2 separate regions of the Homo sapiens genome follow, and region 1 is linked to region 2. Evidence: promoter capture Hi-C in human tissues and cell types (Jung and others, 2019). All regions are on one chromosome and are shown on one strand. Each heading gives the region's core, a stretch centred on a gene start or on the middle of the fragment in contact. The rest is flanking DNA. Distances are from core to core; before and after follow the strand shown. Region 1 overlaps PBK (PDZ binding kinase). Region 2 holds the start of NUGGC (nuclear GTPase, germinal center associated).

The links. The method cuts DNA at HindIII sites, captures the fragments that hold promoters and counts their contacts. A contact is called where the count stands out against the background at its distance.
Region 1: a contact is called between a fragment that was not itself captured here and the fragment with the promoter of NUGGC in region 2, in 1 of the 25 tissues and cell types used here (adrenal gland).

The regions. Positions count from the first base shown.
Region 1 is chr8:27,827,839-27,833,635 of GRCh38, forward strand. It overlaps PBK (PDZ binding kinase), which reads right to left. Exons shown (of 8, transcript NM_018492.4): 2 at 5,218-5,295; 3 at 267-360. The coding sequence starts at 5,275. Among named protein-coding and RNA genes, the nearest start is that of PBK, 7.1 kb to the right of the region's middle. RefSeq lists a silencer at 100-300. The HindIII fragment of the contact is 5,828 bases long and covers 1-5,478 here.
Region 2 is chr8:28,081,456-28,087,622 of GRCh38, forward strand. NUGGC (nuclear GTPase, germinal center associated) reads right to left here and starts at 2,481. Exons shown (of 19, transcript NM_001010906.2): 1 at 2,320-2,481. The HindIII fragment of the contact is 5,516 bases long and covers 1-4,507 here.

The DNA of each region.
Region 1 (5,797 bases), core at 1,315-3,814, 250 kb before region 2:
TTCCCCTTCTTATGGAAGCCAAGGAAAAATTAAAAAGTAAATGACTTCCCCTTTAATAACCCATCAGGAGGAAGCTAGGAGAAAAGCAGAGGCAGAGCTACAGGCAAAGTTACAAAAGGGTCTAGGGACCGGAATACAGCCATCAGCCAGGATCAGGAGCAGACAACCGAATCTAAATACTGGAATTTTCAGACTACTTCTTTGTCTCCAAGTACAGTAGAATTATAGTTGCATGAAAAAAGGTTAATCTGAAATCTTATACTTACCTTTTCATTAGGTACACATTTACCCCAGTACCAAAGCCAAGCTTCTGCATAAACGGAGAGGCCGGGATATTTATAGTTGGAGTTGAACATAATACTAAATGTCAGAGAAATAAAAAATAAAATTAATAAAAAATAAAAATAAAGCATCTTAACATTCTCAATATACTACTGCCAAGAGTATTAATTGGCACAGTCTTTTTGGAGAGCAATTTGACAACATATATCCTAATTTTAAATGGGTATCTTTTGACCAAGCCTACTTTTGGAGTTTTATCCTACAGTAACTCTGAAGCAGAGATTGGGAAATGGCCTGTTTTTGTATGGCCTACAAGCTAAGAACTGTTTTCACATTTTTAAAACATTGTTAAAAGATAAAGGGGTTGGATGTGGTGGCTCATGCCTATAATCTCAACGCTTTTGGAGTCCGGGGCAGGAGGGTCACTTGAGCCCAGTAGAGACCAGCTTGGGCAACATAAAGAGACTCCATCTCTACACACGAAAAAATTTTTTTAATTAGCCAGGAATGATGGCACACACCTGTGGTCTCAGCTACTTGGGAGAAACACTTGAGCCCAGGAGGTTAAGGGTGCAGGTGCAGTGAGCTGTGTTCAGCCTGGGTGACAGAGCAAGACACAGTCTCAAAAAAAAAAAAAAAAAAAAAAAAAGATGAAAAGATGGAGTTCTGCTTCTGCTCATGAAAAATAATTAACTACTCCTGGACAATTAACTGCTCCTAGAGTTACCATCTCGCCATTAACTAGAAAACTAGACAAAATATAATTGTTTTCAGACACTTGACAACAGGCAGAGCAGTGTTGTGATGCCTGAGAGAAGAGAAACAAATGAGGTGGGCCCTATCACTGCCCTAACTTACTGCTTGAAGGCAGTTTCCAGACTGCAGGACAGAGGTCACATAATCCAGAAGTCCTGTCACATTGAAGAGACAGAGATCAGAGGTCAAGAAGGACTAGGCGGCTAGAATTTGTGGAGCAGAGAACTAGAGAGCTCCAAAGAGAGCACTCCAAAGATCTGAACAGTTTCTCTTTGAGTGTTTGGCCAAGTACTTATCCGCACATAACAATGTGTAGATGCCCCAAAGCTGGGAAAGCACCAGAGGAAAGCAATTGGCTCAACAATTACCAGAGATCATACAAGTCTAGGAACACTTCATATCACCATGAGCTAGAGGATGGTAACCCTGTAACACATAGTAAAGTCCTCTAAAGGGTCACAACTAGATAGTACAGCTAAAGTTTAGCCCCAGATAAACATTCAAAACAAAGCTTAAAAGCCAGTCTCAAAAGGAACAGGCTAATGTGCAGGTAACTTAACCTCAGACCATAACTAAATCAAACACTCTTTAAAGGAATAACAAAATCCAGTACTAGACAATGCAAAATATCTACTGCCCAATCAAAAAGTACCAGGCATGAAAGCAGCAAGAAAATATGACCAATATAGGAGAAAAATAAATCAATAGAGGCCTAGCGCGGTGGCTCACGCCTGTAATCCCAGCACTTTGGGAGGCCGAGGCAGGCAGATCACTAGGTCAGGAGTTCGAGACCAGCCTGGCCAACATGGTGAAACCCCGTCTCTACTAAAGAGGCAAAAAATTAGCCAGGTGTGGTGGCACGTGCCTGTAATCCCAGCTACTCGGGAGGCTGAGGCAGGAGAATGGCGTGAACCCAGGAGGCGGAGGTTACAGTGAGCTGAGATAGCGCCATTGCACTCCAGCCTGGGCGACAGGGCACAAGACTCCATCTCAAAAAATTAAAAAATCAATCAATCAATAGAAACATACCATAAGATGACAGGAGGCCAAGAGTGGTGGCTCACGCCTGTAATCCCAGCACTTTGGGAGGCTGAGGCAGGTGGATCACTTGAGGCCAGGAGTTCAAGACCAGCCTGGCCAACATGGCGAAACCCTGTCTCTACTAAAAATACAAAAATTAGCTGGGCGTGGTAGCACGTGCCTGTAATCCCGACTACTCGGGAGGCTGAGGCAGGATAATTGCTTGAACCCAGGAGGTGGAGGTTGCAGTGAGCTGAGATCGCACCATTGCACTCCGGCCTGGGTGACAGAGCAAGATTCTGTCTCAAGAAAAAAAAAAAAAAAAAAAATGACAGGAATGGCAAAATTAGCAGATAAGAACCTTAAGACAAATCTTAAAAATGTGCTCAATGATACAAAGGAAAATCTGAGCATAACGGAAAAAAAAAGACAAAATAGAAGCTTAGGAATGAAAAATACAATGGATAAGAATAACATCATCTTAGAGCAGAAGAATAACTAAATCTTAAGACAGAGCAACAAAAACTATCAAAAATGAAGCAAAGAGAGAAAAAGGTTAGAAAAAAATCATCAATGAGCTATGGGACAATAGCAAAACAGCCGATTTACATCCAACAATAGACAATTACATTGAGTATAAATGGTCTAAACAGAGCTGTCCAATACATCATGCTGCCATGTGGAAATGTCTATATCTGTGCTGTCTGAGCGCTGAGCACTTAAAATGTGACTAATACAACTGAGGAACTCAATTTGTAATTTTATTTAATTCTAATTAATTTGTATCCAAATTTAAATAACCACATTTAATAATCCAAATTTAAATAACCAAATTTAAATAGCCACATGTAGCTAATGGCAAAACAGTCCAGTTAAAGGAAATTAAAGTTGTCAGAACGGATAAAAACAAGACGAGACATGCCATTTATAATAAACTCAATTTAAATATAAAGACGCAAATAGGGCAAGAGTAAAGGGTTGAAAAACATCATTAAAACACAAATCAAAATAAATCTGGAGTGGCTCCATTACTATCACATAAAGTGGACTCCAGAACAAAGAGTACCACTGAGGATTAAGAAGGGTATTTCGTAACAGTTAAGGTATAAATTCATCAAAAGAAATAACCATCCTAGGCCAGGCATGGTAATCCCAACACTTTGGGATCTGACTTGTGGTTTATGTGTCTTGGTGAATGTTGCATGCACTTGAAAGGGAGGCCAAGGAGAGTGGATCACTTGAGGCCAGGAGTTTGAGACCAGCCTGCCCAACATGGCGAAAACCTGTCTCTACTGAAAATACAAAAATTAGCCGGCCATGGTGGTGCACGCCTGTAATCCCAGCTACTCCAGAGGCCAAGGCACCAGAATCACTTGAGCCCAGGAGGTAGAGGTTGCAGTGAGCCGAGATCACACTGTTGTACTCCATTACGGGTGACAAAAGGAAACTCAAAAAAACAAGAAAAAGAAAAGAAATAACCATCCTAAATGTGTATGTACCTAATAACAAAGCTTCAAAATACATGAAGCAACAACTGATAGAAATTGGGGGTGGGGGGAAGCAGACAAATCCACATTGTAGTTGGAAACTTCAACTCTCTTCTCTCATAATTAATATAAAAAGTATACAGAATATCATTGACATTTGTAGAACATTGACATTTGTAGAACACCGTACCCAGTAAGAGTAGAAAAAAATGCCCTTTTCAAGTGCATGCAACATTCACCAACATACATAAACCTCAAGTCAGACTGATTAAGGAAAAAAATTAAGAAAATATACAATACTAGTACCAGATATGAAAAAGGACACTAGAAGGTTAATAAGGGTGTATCAAGAATAACTTCACACCAGTACATTTGAAAATTTAGAAGTGATGGACAAATTCCTTAAAAAACACTAACAAAATTCACAAAGAAAATAAGAGATCACTTGAATAGCCCTATATCTATTAACTGTGAAATCACAGTTAAACTCTTCCTACTAAGAAAACTCCAGGCCCAGATAGCTTTACTAGTGAATTCCACCAATTTAAGGAGGAATAATACCAATTCTACACAAAGTTAAAGAAAAAGATATTTCTATTAAAAAAAGAGAAACATTTCTCATCTTTATGAATACAGAATAACCTAATATTAAAACTAGACAGATATCCCAAAAAGACAACTGCAGTCCAATATCCCTCATGAATATAGACAATATCAGCAAATCAAGCAATATATAAAATATATCATGACCAAACTGGCTTTACACAAGGAAGTTCAGTTTAACACTTGAAAATTAACATAATTTACCACATTGAGAGATTTTAAAAGAAAATTTAATAGATTCAGAAAAAGCTCTCTACAAAGTTCAATACCCACTCACGATAATAACTAGAAATAGAAGAAAAATTCCTCAAACTAATAAAGGGTATTTGTGAAAAACCTACATCTAACATAATACATTGGGAACAAGGCAAGTATATCCACTAACATTTCTATTCAAAAACATACTGGAGCCAGTGCAATTAAAAAAAGTAAAAGAAACAAAGCCATACAGACTGGGGAACAAAGTAAAACTGTCTTTCTTCATCCACAAATGACCAACCATATACAACATCCCAAGCAATCTATTAAAAAGCTAATAGAATAAGTGAGTTTAGGACGGTTGCAGGATACAAGGTCAATATGAAAAATCTGTCACTAGAAATGGACAACAGAATATTTTCTCATGTTATTTTCTAGAAATTTAATTGTAGCTATTTTTTATATAATAGGAGTTAAGGGTCAAGGCTTATTTTTTGCACGTGGATATCTAGGTGTTTGTTGAAAAGATTTTCCTTTGTCCATTGAGTTGCCTTGGAAAATATCTTTCCCTCACAAGAGCAATGTATGGATGAGAGGGAGAAAGGTAAAGCAGTTCCTTAATGGGTCAAGCTAAGTTGATTCTTGGGCAGGGAGAGCCTCCAAACCTGTTAGATTGTCAATAAAATTAGTCCAGAGATGATCAAACCGTGGCCTATAAAATAAGTCTTATTTGTTAAGATTAACATCATAAAGGGGAGTTACATTAAAGTTTCTAAGTGACCGATAATAAAGGATCAAACTAAATAATACTAGGACATTTCTAAGAGAAACAACAATAGTAAAAAAAAAAATCTTACATCTGCTATCTTACCAGATTTCTTTTTTTCTGATAATTTGCTTGGTGTCTTGAAATTACTGATCCCTTCCATTGTGAAAGCCACTCTCAGTCCTACGATGAAAACAAATTGCAAGTTACACAGCAGATATAAAGAATACAACTCTCATTCATGAAGAAAAATGCCAATAGCCAGGCGCAGTGGATCATGCCTGTAATCCCAGCACTTTGGGAGGCTGAGGTGGGTGGATCACCTGAGGTCGGTGGATCACCTGAGGTCGGGAGTTCGAGACCAGCCCGACCAATATGGAGAAACCCCGTCTCTACTAAAAATACAAAATCAGCCAGGCGTGGTGGCGCATGCGTGTAATCCCAGCTGCTTGGGAGGCTGAGGCAGGAGAATCGCTTGAACCTGGGAGGCAGAGGTTGCGGTGAGCCGAGATCGTGCCATTGCACTCCAGCCTGGGCAACAAGAGCAAAACTCCGTCTCAAAAAAAAAAAAAAGCCTATAACATTATCGTTCACGTTATCACAAACAAAATTTGAGAGCTAAAAAGGACCTCAACAAACATTTAGCCCAATTTTACTTAAAATGAGGAAACTAAAACCAAAAAGT
Region 2 (6,167 bases), core at 1,231-3,730:
AGTACTAGTGTCATCCAGGCCACGTCTGTTAGTCTTTGGGGAACAGATGCCACCTTAGCTGAGATTCTGACTCCCGTTCTTGTCCCTATTGATCAAACACATTGAGGATGCTCTACCATCTTCCTTAAAGAATCTTCGATCAGCTGGGTGCAGTGGATCACACCTGTAATCCCAACATTTTGGGAGGCTGAGCCGGGCAGATCATGAGGTCAGGAGTTTGAGACCATCCTGGCTAACTCGGTGAAACTCTGTCTCTACTAAAAATACAAAAAATTAGCCAGCCGTTGTGGCACATGCCTGTAGTCCCAGCTACTCAGGAGGCTAAGGCAGAGGAATCGCTTGAACCCGGGAGGCGGAGGTTGCAGTGAGCTGAGATCATGCCACTGCACTCCAGCCTGGGCAACAGAGTGAGACTCCATCTCAAAAAAAAAAAAAACAATCTTTGGTCAAGTTTTTTCTTGCTCTCACAAGAAGGTGAGCTGAAGAATGAAAGAAGGAAGAGGAGGAGACTGTTAATGAAATGATAGAATGTTGATGAAATTTAGAATTTATTTCCTTTCTCTTTGAGTTTGGGTTTAGGTTTAAGTAACTTTGGTGTTGGCAACATTTCCTAACCACCTCGTTGGCCACTGCACTGCTCTTCCAAACTAGGGATGTCCCAAGGCAGCAATTTAAACACATTAGCTCAGAAGCAAAAGTGAAACAAGGGCCTCCAAATCTCTAAAGGAAAAGAGGTATGTTTTCAGCATTAACACATCGGCTAATGTGTTCAGAATTAGAAATGTGGCCACCAGAAGCAGTCGTAGTAGAAGGGAGGCTTTAGGATGACATGTTTTTCTCCATCTTTCTTCCCTAGGTAAAGAGGTAAGCAAAATAAGCAGATATTTTCATAACGTACTTTAGCAGATTCTAGCGAAACGAATTTGAATCTTCTCATATTGCTCTCCCAAGCTTGTTAAAGCTAATGAGGCATAAGATGACACTTCCCTCCTTATCAGGAATTCATACACCTGCCAGCAATTTCTGCAATAGCTGTTTTCTTTTGGGAGGAATGATTAATGACTTGCCTAAGATCACACTGTTCTGTAAAATTCAAACTAAAACCTGATTCTCCCCATTTCTAGCCCACTGGCCTTTTTACATAGCCTTAAAATTCACTTAAACAGCCTGAGCATGGTGGCTCATGCCTGTAATCCCAGCACTTTGGGAGGCTGAGAGGAGAGGGGATCCCTTGGGCCCAGGAGCTTGAGACCAGCCTTGGCAACAAAGTGAGACCCTCATCTCTACAATTTTTTTTTTAATTAGCTGGGCATGGCAGCATGTATCTGTAGTCCCAGTTATTCAGGAGGCTGAGGCAGGAGGATTACTTGAGCCCAGAAGGTGAAGATTACAGTGAGCCATGTTCATACCACTGCACTCCAGCCTGGGTAACAGACCGAAGCCTCAAAAACAAACAAACCAAACCCCCAAAATTCACTTAAGCAAACAGAAAAGTAAAATTCACTTTCCCTCAAGAAATAACTTGCTTTAAGAAAATCAAAGGAGAGAGAAGAGACAAATGTCCCATATACAGAAGAATTCCAAATAATTTACGTAGCTACTCCATCCTCAAGGAGGTAGAATAAAACTCCCTGCTCCTTAAGTGTGTGCTGTGCATAGCAGCTTCTTTCCAAAGAGAACACGGCGGAGATTGGAGCAGGGAAAGGATCACCTTATAGCAGAGAAACCAGACAAGCGCTGCCTCTACCAGGTGGTCAAGGTCAACACCAACAGTCCTAAATCATGTTGACAATATTATCCCTTGATATGATGTGATGAGAACAGCACTTTAACTCTGGGACTCCTTCCCCAAAACCCATAACTCCAGTCTAATAATGAGAAAAACATCAGACAAATGCCAATAGGAGAAGCCTACAAAATACCCAACCAGTACTCCTCAAAACTGCCATATTCATCAAAAACAAGGAAAGTCTGAGAAACAACGCTACAGCTAAGAGGAGCCTAAGGGAACATAACTAAATATAATGTGCTATCCTGATAGGATGCCACAGTAGAAAGCAGACGTTAGATAAAAACCAAGAATCTGAATCAAGCACAGACTTTAGTTTAAGAATAACGTATCAGTATCGGTTCATCAGTTGTAACAAATGTACCACACTAATACAAGATAATGGGGAAGTTGGGTGGGAATTACATGGGAATGCTCTAAACTATCTTCTCAATATTCCTGTAAACTCAAAACTGTTCTAAAAATTAAGGTCCATTTTTAAAAAATCAACCACAAGTTACAGTACAAATTACATAAAAGAAACAACTTACCAGATGTCACTGAACAGAAAAAAAAAAAAAAAGTTCTGGTTTGGTTACAGGAGTCCACAGAGGAGATGGTGGCAGCTTCTCCTTGGTTCAGGTATTTGGAACCAGCTGGGGTACGTAGCCCTTTGGGCCACAATCACAAAGCCACGTTTACACAGCAGAAGTGAAACCAACTTGCCATCAGGGAGCTATTTACCATGGTCTCCTCCCACAGATACTGATTTATTCTGTCTTCTTTCACTTAAATCTAAATTCACCAGGCACGGTGGCTCACTCCTGTAATCCCAGCACTTTGGGAGGCTGAGGCAGGCAGATCACTTGAGGTCAGGAGTACAACAGCAGCCTGGCCAACATGGTGAAACCTTGACTCTACTAAAAATACAAAAAAAAAAAAAAAATCAGCCAGGCGTGGTGGCAGAACCCTGTAGTCCCAGCTACTCAGGAGGCTGAAGCAAGAGAATCACTTGAGCCTGGGAGGTGGAGGTTGCAGTGAGCCAAGATCGCGCCACTGCACTCCAACCTGGATGATGGAGCAAGACTACATCTCGAAAAAAAAAAAAATCTAAATGGTACATGAAACGGGGATCTTGCACCCTTCTCTGCCATGTTCCTACAAGTAGACAGATGTCTTTTTTCCTTTCCAAGTGCATCACTGCATCCTTCCACAGCATCTTTTCTCTGAGGGTGAACAATATTCAGATGACTGGTTCACTGGAGCAGACAGGAAAAATGCCCCAGTTCCAAGACAGACAAAGCACTGGCTCCCCGACACCCAACTATAAGACATGACTGGGAGAGATGGAGGATATGAGATAATAAATATAAAGTTATTCTTGACCCAAAGTCTTAAAATTCACCAAAAATAACATTTGCCAAAAATAAAACAACATTGGATTGTTTGAGTGTAGAAATGAGTGATATACCGCTTTACACCTCTTTCTGGAACTTAAATTTTAAATCCGTATATTTTTATGTCTTTATTTAGTTAGAGACAAGGTCTTGCTCTGTCACCCAGCCTGGAGTGCAGTGGCGTGATCATAGCTCACAGCAGCCTCGACCTCCCAGGCTCAAGCCATCCTCCCACCTCAGCCTCCTGGGTAGCTGGGACCATGGTCATGCTCCATCACGCCCATCTAATTTTAAATTCATATTTTTAATAAACCCAGAAAACAAAAATTTGAAAGTGCTGTCCAGGAGAGAAGAAAATAAAACCCACTCCACTTTGCTGTGTCTGGCAACCCAAACCATCACATCACATACAGGGAAAAAGTTGTCCCTTGAACCCTCAGCTTCAGGGTGTGTGTTACCTTTTTTTTTTTTTTGTGAGACACAGTCTTGCTCTGTCACCCAGGCTAGAGTGCAGTGGCGCCGTCTCAGCTCACTGCAACCTCCGTCTTCCGGGTTCAAGAGATTTTCCTGCCTCAGCCTCCTGAGTAGCTGGGACTACAGGGGTGCGTCACCATGCCTGACTTTTTTTTTTTTTAATTTTAGTAGAGACAGGGTTTCACCATGTTTGCCAGGCTGGTCTCGAACTCCTGATCTCATATGATCCGCCCACCTTGGCCTCCCAAAGTGCTGGGATTACAGGTATGAGCTACTGTGCTGGGCCAAGGGTGTATGTTACCTTTAAAGGCCAACTCAGTCATTACCAAGACAACCCTCAGTACTCTAGGTATGTATTTAGTCTGAAGAGGGGATTCAGAAGGTAAAGAGGTCAGAACAGGGAAAGAATTGAAGATAAATGTTTAGACTGTGGTCTTAAAAACTGCTTTGAACTTTTGGCAAGATGACGTCCCTCCTCCATAAGAAAACCACAGAAACACCAGGCTAAAGTTCAGAACAAAGAAAGTCAGCACAAATGCCATCCTGGATGCTGAGTCTTATACTGATCTCTCTAGGCAAAATCACACCTTACGCTTACATTCATGTCACGTGTGCTCAGCTCTCCCTCTACTGGCTATTTCTTAGCTTCAACAGTTAACCACAAATGCTACTAAATTACTTAATTATTAAAATTAATTTTGAGCATTTTTAAAGCTTCCTGGGGCAAGGCCCAGTGGCTCACACCTGTGATCCCTGCATTTTGGGAGGCCGAGGTGGACAGATCACCTGAAGTCAGGAGCTTGAGACCAGCCTAGCCAACATGGTGAAACCCTGTCTCTACTAAAAATACAAAATCTAGCCGGTCATGGCAGTGTGTGCCTGTAGTCCCAGCTACTCAGGAGGCTGAGGCAGGAGAATTGCTTGAACATGGGAGGCAGAGGTTGCAGTGAGCCAAGATCAGGCCACTGCACTCCAGCCTGGGCGACAAAGGGAGACTCCATCTCAAAAAATAAAAAAATAAAGCTTCCTGAGTTCCTTTATTTGTTTGCTTGTTTTTGTTTGTTTGTTTTAGACAGGGTCTCACTCTGTCACCCAGGCTGAAGTGTAGTGGCGTTATCACGGCTCACTGCAACCTCAACCTCCTGGGCTCAAGTGATCCTCCCACCTCAGCCTCCCAAGCAGCTGGGACTACAGGCATGTGCCACCACACTTAGCTTAAAAAAACAAAAAACAAAAAAAGAAAAACAAAAACAAAACAAAACTTTAGTAGAGATGAGGTCTCCTTATGTTACCCAGGCTGAACTCAAACTCCTGAGCTCAAGCGATCCTCCCATCTTGGCCTCCCAAAGTGTTGGGATTACAGGTGTAAGCCACTGGGTCCAGCCTCTGGGGTTCTTTATGGTAGTCCTTGGCACCTGCTATTGGACGCCTGAATGCTAGGCCTGTTAGATGTTTCTCCATTCTCTCAGGCTGAATTTCCATTGAGCTCACTGAAAACACTGAAGCAATGAGACCGTCCACAGAGCCTCATCATCACCCCCAACCACCTATCCGGTGCTCTGCCCTCCAGCCTGTTGCTAGATGAACTATCCATGCACCCATTAAAGGCCAATCCCTTCTCTGTGCACCAGATTCCATCCCTCTCTCTAACTGAAGAACCATGTAGAGTACTTCCTCCTCTTCTCTAATTCACCAAACTTTCACTCTCCACTGGATTATTCCCATCTGTGAACAGATTTGATGTCATTCATTCCACCTTAACAAACACTCCCTGGACCTCCATTTCCCTGCCAGGTATTAGTATATTTCTCTGCACTTCTTTATGACAAAACTCCTAGGCTGGGCATGGTGTCAGCACTTTGGGAGGCTGAGGCAGGAGGATCACTTGAACCCAGGAGTTCAAGACCAGTCTGGGCAACATAAGGAAACCCCTGTTTCTACAAAAAATAAAAATAAAAATTAGCCAGGCATGGTGGTGCATGCCTATAGTCCCAGCTACTTGAGGGGCTGAGATGGAAGGATCACTTGAGCCTGGGAGGTCGAGGCTGCAGTGAGCTGTGATTGTACCACTGCACTCCAGCCTGGGTGACAGAGCAAGACCCTGTCTCCAAAAAAACAAACAAAACCCCACAACTCCTCAAAAGAGTTGTCTCTACTTACTGTCTCAAATTCCTTTCCTCTCAAGCTAATATAAACCTATTCCAGTCAAGCCTTCACCCTTCCCATCCCATTAAAGCTGTTCTTGTCAAAGTCCACAATGATCCTGGTCAATTTTCAACCTTTATCTTTCTTGAGCCATCAGGAGCATTTGACCTGGTTGATCATTCCCTCCTGTTTGACAAACCTCCTACACTTGGCTTTCAGATAACCACTCCCCTAGTTTTCATCCCATCTCCCTGGAAGTGCTCCTCAGTCTCCTTCACTGGTTATTCCCTCGCTTCTCAACCTGTTAATAATAAAATACCCCAAGGCTTCATCTTCGGTCTCTTTCCTTTCCACAGCCACCCTGTTTCGTAGCTTTCAATTTC